4 separate regions of the Homo sapiens genome follow, and regions 1, 2 and 4 are each linked to region 3. The links are contacts of gene promoters, found by promoter capture Hi-C in human tissues and cell types (Jung and others, 2019). All regions are on one chromosome and are shown on one strand. The core of a region is centred on a gene start or on the middle of the fragment in contact, and the rest is flanking DNA. Distances in the headings are between cores, read along the strand shown.

Region 1 (2,700 bases), core at 47-2,546, 1.2 Mb before region 3:
TCCAGGAAAAGACCAAACCAGGTGATAAAGGTTTGTGTCACCATTTCAAAAAGAATAAAGAAAAGGGCAGTACAGACACTGCATTATCAGACGCCACCATTATAATTTGTGGATCTCACACATCAATATGTAAATAACAGAGGCCAAGCTATTTCCTCCGCAGGTTGCCTGTAAATTGAAGTAAAAACTGTATTACTAAAGCCAGGCAAGCTAGAACAACACAGATTATAAGTCAAACAATGATATGAGTTCATTTAACACTGAGAAAACAAGCGTTTCTAGATAACTACATATCATGCAAGACAAACAATTCTAGAAACGGGAAATAAATGGGTGAGGCAAAATGAAAAGGAAGAAAATTGGATGAAATTCATCAGGACTAAAAATATTGGCAGTTTCAGGGTAGAGGTATTAGCTGAGCAATAAGGTGAGAGAAATTGCCACAAGTCTACATTGCCTGCACTCGGAGGGAGGCCACAGGGAGTGCCTGTTAAGAGCTCTGACTGGCTTCAAACTGCCTTGGCTGGATTTTGGTGGTAGCAGTGGGTGGCCTTGGCCAAATTTTCCAAGCCCTGATTTTCTTATCACTAAGGTAGACAGCTTCTACCTCATAAGGATGCTATGAGGATGAAATGCAAAAAAAACAAAGTAAATAAAGGGCCTAGCCCAGTGTCTAGTACATTTGTATGTGCTCATTAATCGTTAGCAATAGTAAGTGAACTTCAAAAGATTAAGAAAAGCCAGATGGCCAGTTGAGAAACAGGAACAGGAATTAGATATTGTTACTAATCGTCTGTGATAAACTCTGTAGTTCATGTTAACACACACACACAAAAAAACACAAAAATTTGCTTCTATGAACCATTTTTAAAAGGCTCTAGGCCAGGCGTGGTGGCTCATGCTTATAATCCCAGCACTTTGGGAGGCCGAGGCGGGGAGATGGCTTGAGCCTAGGAGTTCAAGACCAGCCTGGGCAACATGGTGAAAACCCATCTCTACAAAAAATACAAAAATTAGCCGGGCATGGTGGTGTGCACTGTGGTCCCAGCTACTTGGGAGGCTGAGGTGAGAGAATCACCTGAGCCCAGGAGGTCTAGGCTACAGCGACCTGTGATGATGCCACTGCACGCCAGCCTGGGTGACAGAGTGAGACCTTGTCTCAAAATAATAATAATAATAATAATAAATAAGATAAAGTGCTCTAAATTTTAAATGTAAAGTGTTATAAAATCGGTGTGCAAGTTTCCAGTATAGAGTCTAGTTACTGAAGCAGATATTTAATTTATCATGACAAGACATATTGCCAAACTGAGACTGTTGGCCATGGCTGTGTGTCCACTGGCAACTTTAAGGGATGTGAGATCAGGCTGCCTGGGCATCCAGTTATGCTGTCTCTGATTGGAGGTGAACTGCATTCTTTCGAGTGGTGAGCATATAGACCTACTCTCCATGATTTGGCAGAAAATAATAAAATTTGATTTATATTTGTCAAATGTATTCCCTTGATAATGGCTGGACACCAAAATATCGTTTTCTGAGTTTTCTTTTCAAGAATTTGGCTTTGGAATATGGAAATTCCCATGATTGAGAGTCCACTCAGCAAGAACTAATGAGCCCTGAATAATGATCACCCTCCGAGAGTTCCCCTCCACCATGTTCATAAAACCCCTCCAGTTGGCGATGGCTTCCACTGCCTTTTAGTCAGAATTCAGCCTGTCTTTATGGACCTTTTTTGACTTCATAATTTCTCCAGGTTGTATTTTTAAAAGTCTTATTCACCTACAAAATGAACCAACAGATAAGCATCTTTTCCTTTTCAAAAGCAAGTCTGGTCTCTTTGTTCACAAATTCCAAATATACTAGTCCTAGAAATTATGCATGGGCAAGATTTGTACTTCCAGAGAATTTTACTTTCAAACAAGGTGAACTGTCAAACTGTGAATGCAGCTTGTGGAGTGAATGTCTCCCCGAGAAGGAGGCTCCTTTCCTTGAGGGGAAGGGAAGTGGCTGGTCTGGGGCTTTCTCATTGGCCCCTGGATGCGGTTTTGCACCTCTGGTTAGAGGCTGGCTGCTTTGTCTTGTCAGAGAGACGTATCATCTGTTTTAATGCTGACCTGTAATGTTTTATTCACATTGTAAATCTTTTATCGCCTGTGACTCCTGTGAGATTTCCCCTTTTGTTATTATTTTTTTTCTTATTGGTATTGATTCTCAATTTTGCCAAAGGGTTAGGAAACCTACTGCCCTGTTGGCATGATTGCAAAGAATCTGACTGCTGTTTTCCTCCCCACAAAAGAAGTATCTGTAGCCATTTAATTACGTAGTTTATTTTTAAAGCATGAATGAAAGAACCAGGGATCATCTTTCACTTAAATTCAGCTCAGCATGTTCTCAGAACATTAAACATTCTCAATTCTTTCAGTTATTGAAACGGGTGTCCTTGTCTGAAAGCAAATGAGTGCATTTGGTTTTACCCAGTCTAATGTCACAGATTTTATTGTATGCTGTTTTCTTTTGTCAGCTAGAAATAGAGTCCATAACCTCAAACACTGTCAAAAAGAAATAAATATACTCCGTGGGAAAAATAATAACTCTTAGACATTTCAGCTGCAGAATAAATCCCTTCCGTCGGACACAGCCTGCATATAATGGGAACCCCAAACTGCCTTGAATGCCCTAACAGAAGCTCTCCTGCATTTA
Region 2 (2,700 bases), core at 99-2,598, 1.1 Mb before region 3:
TGTGTTTAATTTATTAATATGGAGTTCTAGCTGGGCATCTGATACTCAAAGACAAGGGAACAAAGCTTCACAGCCTGTTACAGCTTTGGACTTGGCCCAGGCTCATGCCCATCTCCAAAGCGGTCAAGTCCTATTTGTCCTATAAGAAGCACCTGCTGGCCAGGAGCAGTGGCTCACACTTGTAATCCCAGCACTTTGAGGGGCCAAGGCAGACAGATCACGAGGTCAGGAGTTCGAGACCAGCCTGGCCAACACAGTGAAACCCTGTCTCTACTAAAAATATGAAAATTAGCTGGGCGTGGTGGCGGGAGCCTGTAATCCCAGCTACTTGGGAGGCTGAGGCAGGAGAATCGCTTGAACCCGAGAGGCAGAGGTTGCAGTAAGCTGAGATCGTACCGCTGCACTCCAGCCTGGGTGACAGAGCGAGACTCCACCTCAAAAAAAAAAGATGCACCCGCCGTTGACAACCTCCCCAGGCTTCTCATCTATGAGTCATCCACCCTCCCCAAACTCCTCACCATTTATACATGCCTCCCTCGAGACCCTCATCCCTGTGTCCATTCAATTTTAGCAGTTTATGTACACGTCATATCCTCTTTTCAATCAGAAGTAACTCGAGGGCCCTCGCATTTTGGCTCGTATATACTAAGTACTCAGTAAACACCTTGGAAAATGAGTGAATGGCTGTTTAATACCTATTAAAATACAGAGACCAAACGTACACTCGCCCCTCCGGATCTCACTTGGGGAGCAGTGCCTTTGTGCTCAGGAGGGCTGCCATGTTCCTAAATACTTCGGAATACACAGAATTCTGGTATGCTTTCTAGAGACCAGATATACCCAAGCTTCAGCCCAATTTCAGTTTTTAAAAACAGGATCAAGAGGGCCAGATGTGGTGGCGCATGCCTGTGATCCCAGCATTTTGAGAGGCCTTGGAGGGCAGATCACCTGAGGTCAGGAGTTCGAAACCAGCCTGTCCAAAATGGTGAAACCCCATCTCTACTAAAAATACAAAAATTAGCTGGGTGTGGTGGTGCACACCTGTAATCACAGCTACTCAAGAGGCTGAGGCACAAGAGTGGCTTCAACCTGGGAGGCAGAGGTTGCATTGAGCTGAGATTTTACCACTGAACTCCAGCCTGGGTGACAGAGTGAGACTCTGTTTCAAAAAAAAAAAAAAAAACAAAACAAAACAAAAAACAGGATCAAGATTTACGCCTTCCTGAAGAAGTTGAGTCTGGGGTCACAGTCATTAGTATCATGCTTCATAATGACCTTAAGCCTCTTTCAAGTGTGTGATATTCTATTAGGTTGATGCAAAAGTAATTGCGGTTTTTGCCATTCTTTTTTTTTTAAAAAAAAGGCAAAAACCGCAATTACTTTTGCATCAACCTAATATATGCACAGTTTCATAAGCTCTCTGAGGGCAGGACTTCTGTCTATTCTGTTGATGTTATTGTTACCCACACACACTACCTTGTAAGGAAGTCTGCCCACACTGGGCAAACATTAACTATTGACTAAGCGTATCATTTTATTTTAACACAATTAGGAAGCCCTGCATTCCAAGGAACCCCTTTAGCCAAAAGCTGCTGAGTTAGGTCACCAGACTCAGCACACACCTTTTCTAATCTGCTTCTTCAGTCCCTATGAGCCATACAATGCATTCTCTCCTGCCTAGAGTTGGCAATTTCAATTATTTCTTTTCCAGAAAGAAATAAAAGTGTCTGGACTGAAATAGATTTCCCTGTTTGGAAACTAATGCAGTGAGGGGTCTATTTGTTACAAACACTGATAGGCAGCCTTCTCCACAGAGGTGAGCCGTCCTTTCCCATGGGCTCCTCTTTGCTCCTTCCTCTACAGGAATCCATCTACTCTGGTTCATGTACAGAAGGTTACTGTGGTTTTTCCAGGAAACTGCTGCCTGATGAGGGAGGCAAATTTTCTGTGTACAAATTTGAGGACCATTTGTGCAGAAACAGACATAAGTAACAGAATATAAGCCATATTAATGTTTTTATGACTATACTTGGGCCTTCTCAACAATGGTTAAGTGTTGCCAAACTAGCTTTACTTAGTGTTGGCAGGACAGGAGCTGTAATATATAGTTCTTTTTGTCTTGGCAATAAGTCTGGCACTCCTGCCAGAATCTACTCTAAAGGAAATGAACCAGAGACAATAAGTCCATTCAAATGCACTAGCGATTTCTTCCAGCAGGGATTTTTCAATTTCTAAGTTGATACAAATTTTAAAACCACCTATTTTAAGTAGGGAGTGGGAGTTTTATTTTCCAAAAGAAGATGTTATATTTACCAATGTATTTCTGACATCTGTCCGCAACAAGAAATATTATAGTGCCAGGTAATTGAGAAGGTGTCAGAACAAAACAAACATAAAACAAACAAAAACAGAGAGAGATGTATTCCTTTCAAAAGGATGTAAACACAAAATATAATTGATGGGCTTCATTCAGTCAGCCGTTTAATTTGCGGTGTTTAAGTACTTACATAAAATGACATTACTGCTGTGCTATTGTCTCGCTGGTTCCATGCATTTTATTTATGACCATGTGTCTTTGTGAGTGAATAAAAAAATGTGGAGTTGCTAGCAGCAAACCTTACACATTTCAAAACCCAAAACCAAGAAATCCTTGAAGGACCACCTATAAAAAAAAACTTTGTTAACACAAGGTTCAATATT
Region 3 (2,700 bases), core at 184-2,683:
GAAAGAAAACAATACGATTTGGACCCTGGGAACAATCTGCCCATCTGAGGCTGGGGCCGTGTCCCGGCGGACTCCGGCTTTCCCTGGCCCCTCTCCTGCCCCCTCCGCCCTGCCCCGGGCGCCCCGATCGGGAGGCACAGCCCTCCCAGGCTGCCCACCGCACAGAAACCCAGGAAGCAAGGCCCTTTCCTGAGCGCCCAAGTGGCCTTCGGGTCACCCTCCCTCAAAGTTCCAGCCCCGAGAGCCGCCTCCCGTTTCCAGCCTGCAGGGTTGGGGAGCCTGTTTTCTTTTTCTTCCCTTTCCTTCTCTCTCCCTCCTGCCCCCAAAATTCAGAATCCTGCAGGCTCTCGCCTCGATTCTTTCCCCCAAGCCCCTTTTCGGGGGCTGTAATTAGTAACGCTGTTTCCCCAGCGTAGCCCTCCTCATAAATTATCCGCCGTGACAAGCCCGATTCACGGCTGCTACAGCCATCCTCTACCTCTCTGCGCCTTGCTCGGCTGGCCTGACCCGGGAGCGCGTCCCAAGGCGTGGGGTTCCAGAGGGGTTTTTTGCTTCCTCCCCCTTCCAACGTCTAAACTGTCCCAGAGAACGCCCATTTCCCCCACTATTTGTGAGCGCAGGGTGCTCGCAAAGAAGAGGAGGAAGGAGGAAGGCAGGGGAGGGAGAACGGCAAGGAGAGCTCCGCAGGGCTGGGAGAAATGAGACCAAGAGAGACTGGGAGAGGGCGGCAGAGAAGAGAGGGGGGACCGAGAGCCGCGTCCCCGCGGTCGCGTGGATTTAGAAAAAGGCTGGCTTTACCATGACTTATGTGCAGCTTGCGCATCCAGGGGTAGATCTGGGGTTGGGCGGGCGGCGCCGGGCTCGGCTCGCTCTGCGCACTCGCCTGCTCGCTGCTGGCAGGGGCGTCCTCCTCGGCTCCGGACGCCGTGCCAACCCCCTCTCTGCTGCTGATGTGGGTGCTGCCGGCGTCGGCCGAGGCGCCGCTGGAGTTGCTTAGGGAGTTTTTCCCGCCGTGGTGGCTGTCGCTGCCGGGCGAGGGGGCCACGGCGGAGCAGGGCAGCGGATCGGGCTGAGGAGAGTGCGTGGACGTGGCCGGCTGGCTGTACCTGGGCTCGGCGGGCGCCGCGCTGGCGCTGGCAGCGTAGCTGCGGGCGCGCTCTCCGGAGCCAAAGTGGCCGGAGCCCGAGCGGCCGACGCTGAGATCCATGCCATTGTAGCCGTAGCCGTACCTGCCGGAGTGCATGCTCGCCGAGTCCCTGAATTGCTCGCTCACGGAACTATGATCTCCATAATTATGCAACTGGTAGTCCGGGCCATTTGGATAGCGACCGCAAAATGAGTTTACAAAATAAGAGCTCATTTGTTTTTTGATATGTGTGCTTGATTTGTGGCTCGCGGTCGTTTGTGCGTCTATAGCACCCTTGCACAATTTATGATGAATTATGGAAATGACTGGGACATGTACTTGGTTCCCTCCTACGTAGGCACCCAAATATGGGGTACGACTTCGAATCACGTGCTTTTGTTGTCCAGTCGTAAATCCTGCCTGATGACCTCTAGAGGTAAACTCGTGCACTAATAGGGGAGTTGGGTGGAGGCGAGGGGGGTGGCGCGCGCGCCCCGGGCGCGTGCCCGCCGCCAGTTGCCGCCGTTCAGCCGGACTCGAGCGCCACCCGCTGGAGGCAGGGCTCATCGCCCAGCTTCCGACCGGGGGCTGCAAGGGCCGGGGTCGAATTGAGGTTACAGCCCATTATGGCAAAATTATTGCATTTCCCTCGCAGTTCCATTAGGATGTACCAATTGTTAGGCCGTCAGCTGCCGATCGCGCGCCCGGCGAGGATGCAGAGGATTGGGGGGAGGTGGTGACTTGCATTTTATTTACAACAACTTTATTTCCCCCGTTTTGCAGCCCCTCTTATTTTTGTGTCGAGGTTGGGGTCGGTACTGACCGTCCTGCCAGCAGCTCTGAATTTTGAAAATACAGATATCACCTTCGGGGAAGGGGGAAAGCCATTTAGCCAATTGGAGAAATAAATCCTGCCCGCAGCAGCAGCAGCTACAATTACGGCTCTGTTTTTGCGAGCGCATGAGGGACAGTGTCCCTGCCGCTCTTAAATGACAGGCGTCTATTAAAGATAGCTTTTGTGTAGTGTTTCTCCAAGGCGAGGTCAAATTCCATACACTTTTATAACCGTAGTCGATTTTTCTTTCGTGTGAATATGGTTTTCGTGTCATTAGTTTGCGATTTGATTTGCTTACGTATCCAGCCTGGAAAATCTTCATCACAGGGTCCGGTTCCTCGAGCCAGCCGGGCCCCAAGTCGGAGGGTTCTCCTTGAACCCAGCGAGTGGGCCCAGGCTCCCTGCAGCCACAGAGGCTGCCTGGGGTCTGGGGATCCGTGGGGCGGGTTACTGGGGTCTTGCTTAGACCTCCAGGAGTAAAATGAGGGCGATAATGGAAGCATTCCTTGGCAGTGCCTAGTATCTCTGTAGTTATTTTCCACGGCTCCGAAAGACTCAAGTAAATCACAAATATAGCTGAGAGGCAAGTGGAGTCTCCCCGCTGGAGGCCCGGCGTTGCAGGCGCCCCTGGCACGTCTGGAAGCCAGGACTCTGGCGGCTCCCATGGCCCTGGGCCCCTCGTTGGGTCCTGAACGCTGCTGTGGCGGCGACGCGGGCGCTATCGGAGGCTGGGAGCGGG
Region 4 (2,700 bases), core at 20-2,519, 1.4 Mb before region 3:
ACTCTGCAAAAAAACTGCCCAGCAATTTTAAGTTAATGGGCAAGATTAATGGATTGTCATATAATGTGAAGGGAAAGTATTAGAAAGAAATGAAAGTGGCTAGACAAAATTGGTTTGGAATTGGAGTCTACCTGAAGGCCCCTCAGCAAGAACATTACTGTCTGCTGTATTTTCAGCTAAGCAGTGTATTAATTTGAAAGCCATGCCTCGTACGGATACCCAGCACTTAGTGGTTGGTTTTATGTTTAAAATGCTTAGTATGAAACCTGTGCTGAAAATTTGCCCAAACATCTCACAGTTGATTGCAAACCCGAGTGCCTGGGGGCTCTGAGTCCACACCTCAAGAATGCTGGAGTGGGGGGACTTTCTGGCTCCACACCTGGGTTTGTCAAGGCCTCTTCGGGCTGCTGGGAATGTGCCCTGCCTGGGGCCCGCTGCTCTCCTCATCAGCCCTCTGACAGATTAAAACACAACAGGGTCTGTTGCCTGACTGACACATTCCTCTCCTGTCTGCCTCTGAAAGGACTTTATTTAACAGTCCTGGAGTCGGGCTTTGACTGACAGATTGTGAAGGGTAAAAGTCATTCAGTTCCATTAAGCTCTGTAACTGCCCTGGAACAAAACACCTTCCAAAAAAAGTGTCGGAGGGAGGGGAAAATAGAGCTGTGGAGAGTGGGGGCATGAGCTTTCGGGAGAAAAAAAGGGGGTTTCTTTTCAGGTTCAAAAACAATCCTCCTCTTTGCCTTCTGTCTATCAATTAGGGCGGCATTCCCAGAGGGAATACAGGCCCGGCCTCATTGGTGTCATTCAGCTGCCAATCTCCTGACAGAGACACCAAAGGGCCTCATGTAGCGCTGCGGAAACTGTCTGTCAGGCCATCAGCAGCTGCTATGACGACATCGCCTCTGTTTTTCTAGGACTCTTATGGAGGGGGGAGTTCACCCCAACAGAGTCTCAGAGTCTCGACTCCAAACCTCTGTTCATATTTTCCTTTTACAACCCATCCCCAGTGTGAATTTCTTCACAAAAACAACCCCCGGCTCCCTTGCCTGGCTCGGCTACGAGGTAAATAATAGCTTGCCAGCCAAGGACATGGTCTTGGGTGTGAGAAAGGGGTTCTGCTTCTGGGAAAAACCGAGTCGTGACTGAACACATTCAACGACTCTGGCTCAGATGAGTCCAAAGAAACCCGATTTGCAGTGAAAGGTCTCCATCCACCGAAAGGCCTGCACAGGCCGCGTGTGAAGAGCAGTGTGGCCCCACAGACGGCCTCCTGCTCAGCCTTAACCTTGTTTGGGTTGCTGTGGGTTTCATTCCCCTGGAGTTTTGCTTGGAGCCTGAAGGCTCAAGCACAGCTCAACACTTTAAGCCAAACTCAGCACCAAGCAACCACTTCCCACTGCTCTGTTTTTCTGCCTTGCTCCCCGCTTTCCCCAAGGCCTGACTTACACGGCTGCCTTGAGTTTGCCCCAAAGATTCCTCAGCCTCAGCTGATCACACAGAAGACCCAAGAGTACAAAGGAAGGGCCCGTTTACCCGAGCTTTCTGGCTGGACTGGGGAAAATATCTTTACCCCCTCCCTGCCCTCAACTCCCTCCTGTCCACTCCAGATTCTGCCTAAGACTTGGGGAGGCAGATCCGGGCCACCAATGGCCACCTGCAAAGATAGTGGTTGTCTCTGCATTCTGTAAAGGCTGTGTTTGTGATTCCTGGCATTTCCCTGGAAGTGTTTTCACATTACAGGGAGCTGCTTCCAAATGGTAATGATAGCACTTTGTACCAAACTGAGAGCTGGAGCAAGTTGCTGCCAAGCCCCCATGGTCGGGCCATCGTGTTGCAACGCTTCTGCTTCTATTACAGTTCTTCACATGTTCCACCCGAACCGTACAAAATGTTTAGCCAAACCCTGTAAGAACATGTACATAAAGCTGTCTCCATGCTGCCAAGGTGGTAAAGTCGATCTTTTTTCTTCCTTAAGTCTGAAAGCTCTGCTAAGGTCCAACACTTCCTGAGCATAAACTCCATCTGGGGTGGCTAAAATCTGTCTACAGGGCAATATACTGATTTTAGACACCCAGATGCTGGGCCTTGGATATGCACTACCTAAATGAAGACACTGCCTGGGGAAATTCAGAATTAACTAGATTTTTGGCACTGGGAGTATATGCAGAGAGGAGCAAATGGACAGGATGATGCGAGGGAGAGAGAGGTTGATGTGATTGTCACCTTCCTGCTCTGCAGCCTCAGGAAGACACACTCAGAAGCCAGCCCTTTGCCATCTGCATGGATAGAAATGGCAACAGTCATGGGAGGCACTGATAGTTCACTAATGAGTGAATATTTCCACATTGCTTTGCAGGTCTTTGGTTATTGCAGCACATTTTCATTACTGAAGCAGAGAAGAAACCAACCTAAGGAATTGGGCAGGCCACCAGGGATATACACAAAGTGCTCTCACCTCCTGGGGCATCACCAAAAAGAGACTTTAGTCGCTGGATCAAAGGCTATTGGGAACATTTCACTCAGGATGAATTATCTTGAAAACACCACCTGGAGTAGCCCCAAATAAGCAGATGCTTTGGAGCTCCTGGATGCTGAGTGGTGGCACAGATTCCCATCCTGGGGCTCCGTGTCACCATCCAATGTCTGGTAACCCCATCCATTCCCTTTGTATCTTCCACAAAGACTTCAGATCCTCAC

What was found. Contacts are between HindIII fragments. The study calls those that stand out against the background at their distance.
Region 1: a contact is called between a fragment that was not itself captured here and the fragment with the promoter of HOXA5 in region 3, in 1 of the 25 tissues and cell types used here (spleen).
Region 2: a fragment that was not itself captured here is called in contact with the fragment with the promoter of HOXA5 in region 3 in 1 of the 25 tissues and cell types used here (spleen).
Region 4: a contact is called between a fragment that was not itself captured here and the fragment with the promoter of HOXA5 in region 3, in 1 of the 25 tissues and cell types used here (dorsolateral prefrontal cortex).

The regions. Positions count from the first base shown.
Region 1 is chr7:25,911,738-25,914,437 of GRCh38, forward strand. No RefSeq gene overlaps it. Among named protein-coding and RNA genes, the nearest start is that of MIR148A, 37 kb to the right of the region's middle. The HindIII fragment of the contact is 6,078 bases long and covers 1-2,700 here.
Region 2 is chr7:26,059,036-26,061,735 of GRCh38, forward strand. LOC105375199 (a long non-coding RNA gene) reads right to left here. Exons shown (of 7, transcript XR_927114.3): 3 at 2,508-2,662. Among named protein-coding and RNA genes, the nearest start is that of NFE2L3, 92 kb to the right of the region's middle. The HindIII fragment of the contact is 5,839 bases long and covers 1-2,700 here.
Region 3 is chr7:27,142,248-27,144,947 of GRCh38, forward strand. It overlaps HOXA5 (homeobox A5), which reads right to left and starts at 1,434. Exons shown (of 2, transcript NM_019102.4): 1 at 799-1,434. The coding sequence starts at 1,360. All of the region lies in intron 1 of HOXA3 (homeobox A3), which reads right to left. The region is part of intron 1 of HOXA-AS3 (HOXA cluster antisense RNA 3); the gene reads left to right. The HindIII fragment of the contact is 16,485 bases long and covers 1-2,700 here.
Region 4 is chr7:25,752,707-25,755,406 of GRCh38, forward strand. The region is part of intron 1 of LINC03007 (long intergenic non-protein coding RNA 3007); the gene reads right to left. Among named protein-coding and RNA genes, the nearest start is that of LINC03007, 36 kb to the right of the region's middle. RefSeq lists an enhancer at 1-1,956. The HindIII fragment of the contact is 5,038 bases long and covers 1-2,700 here.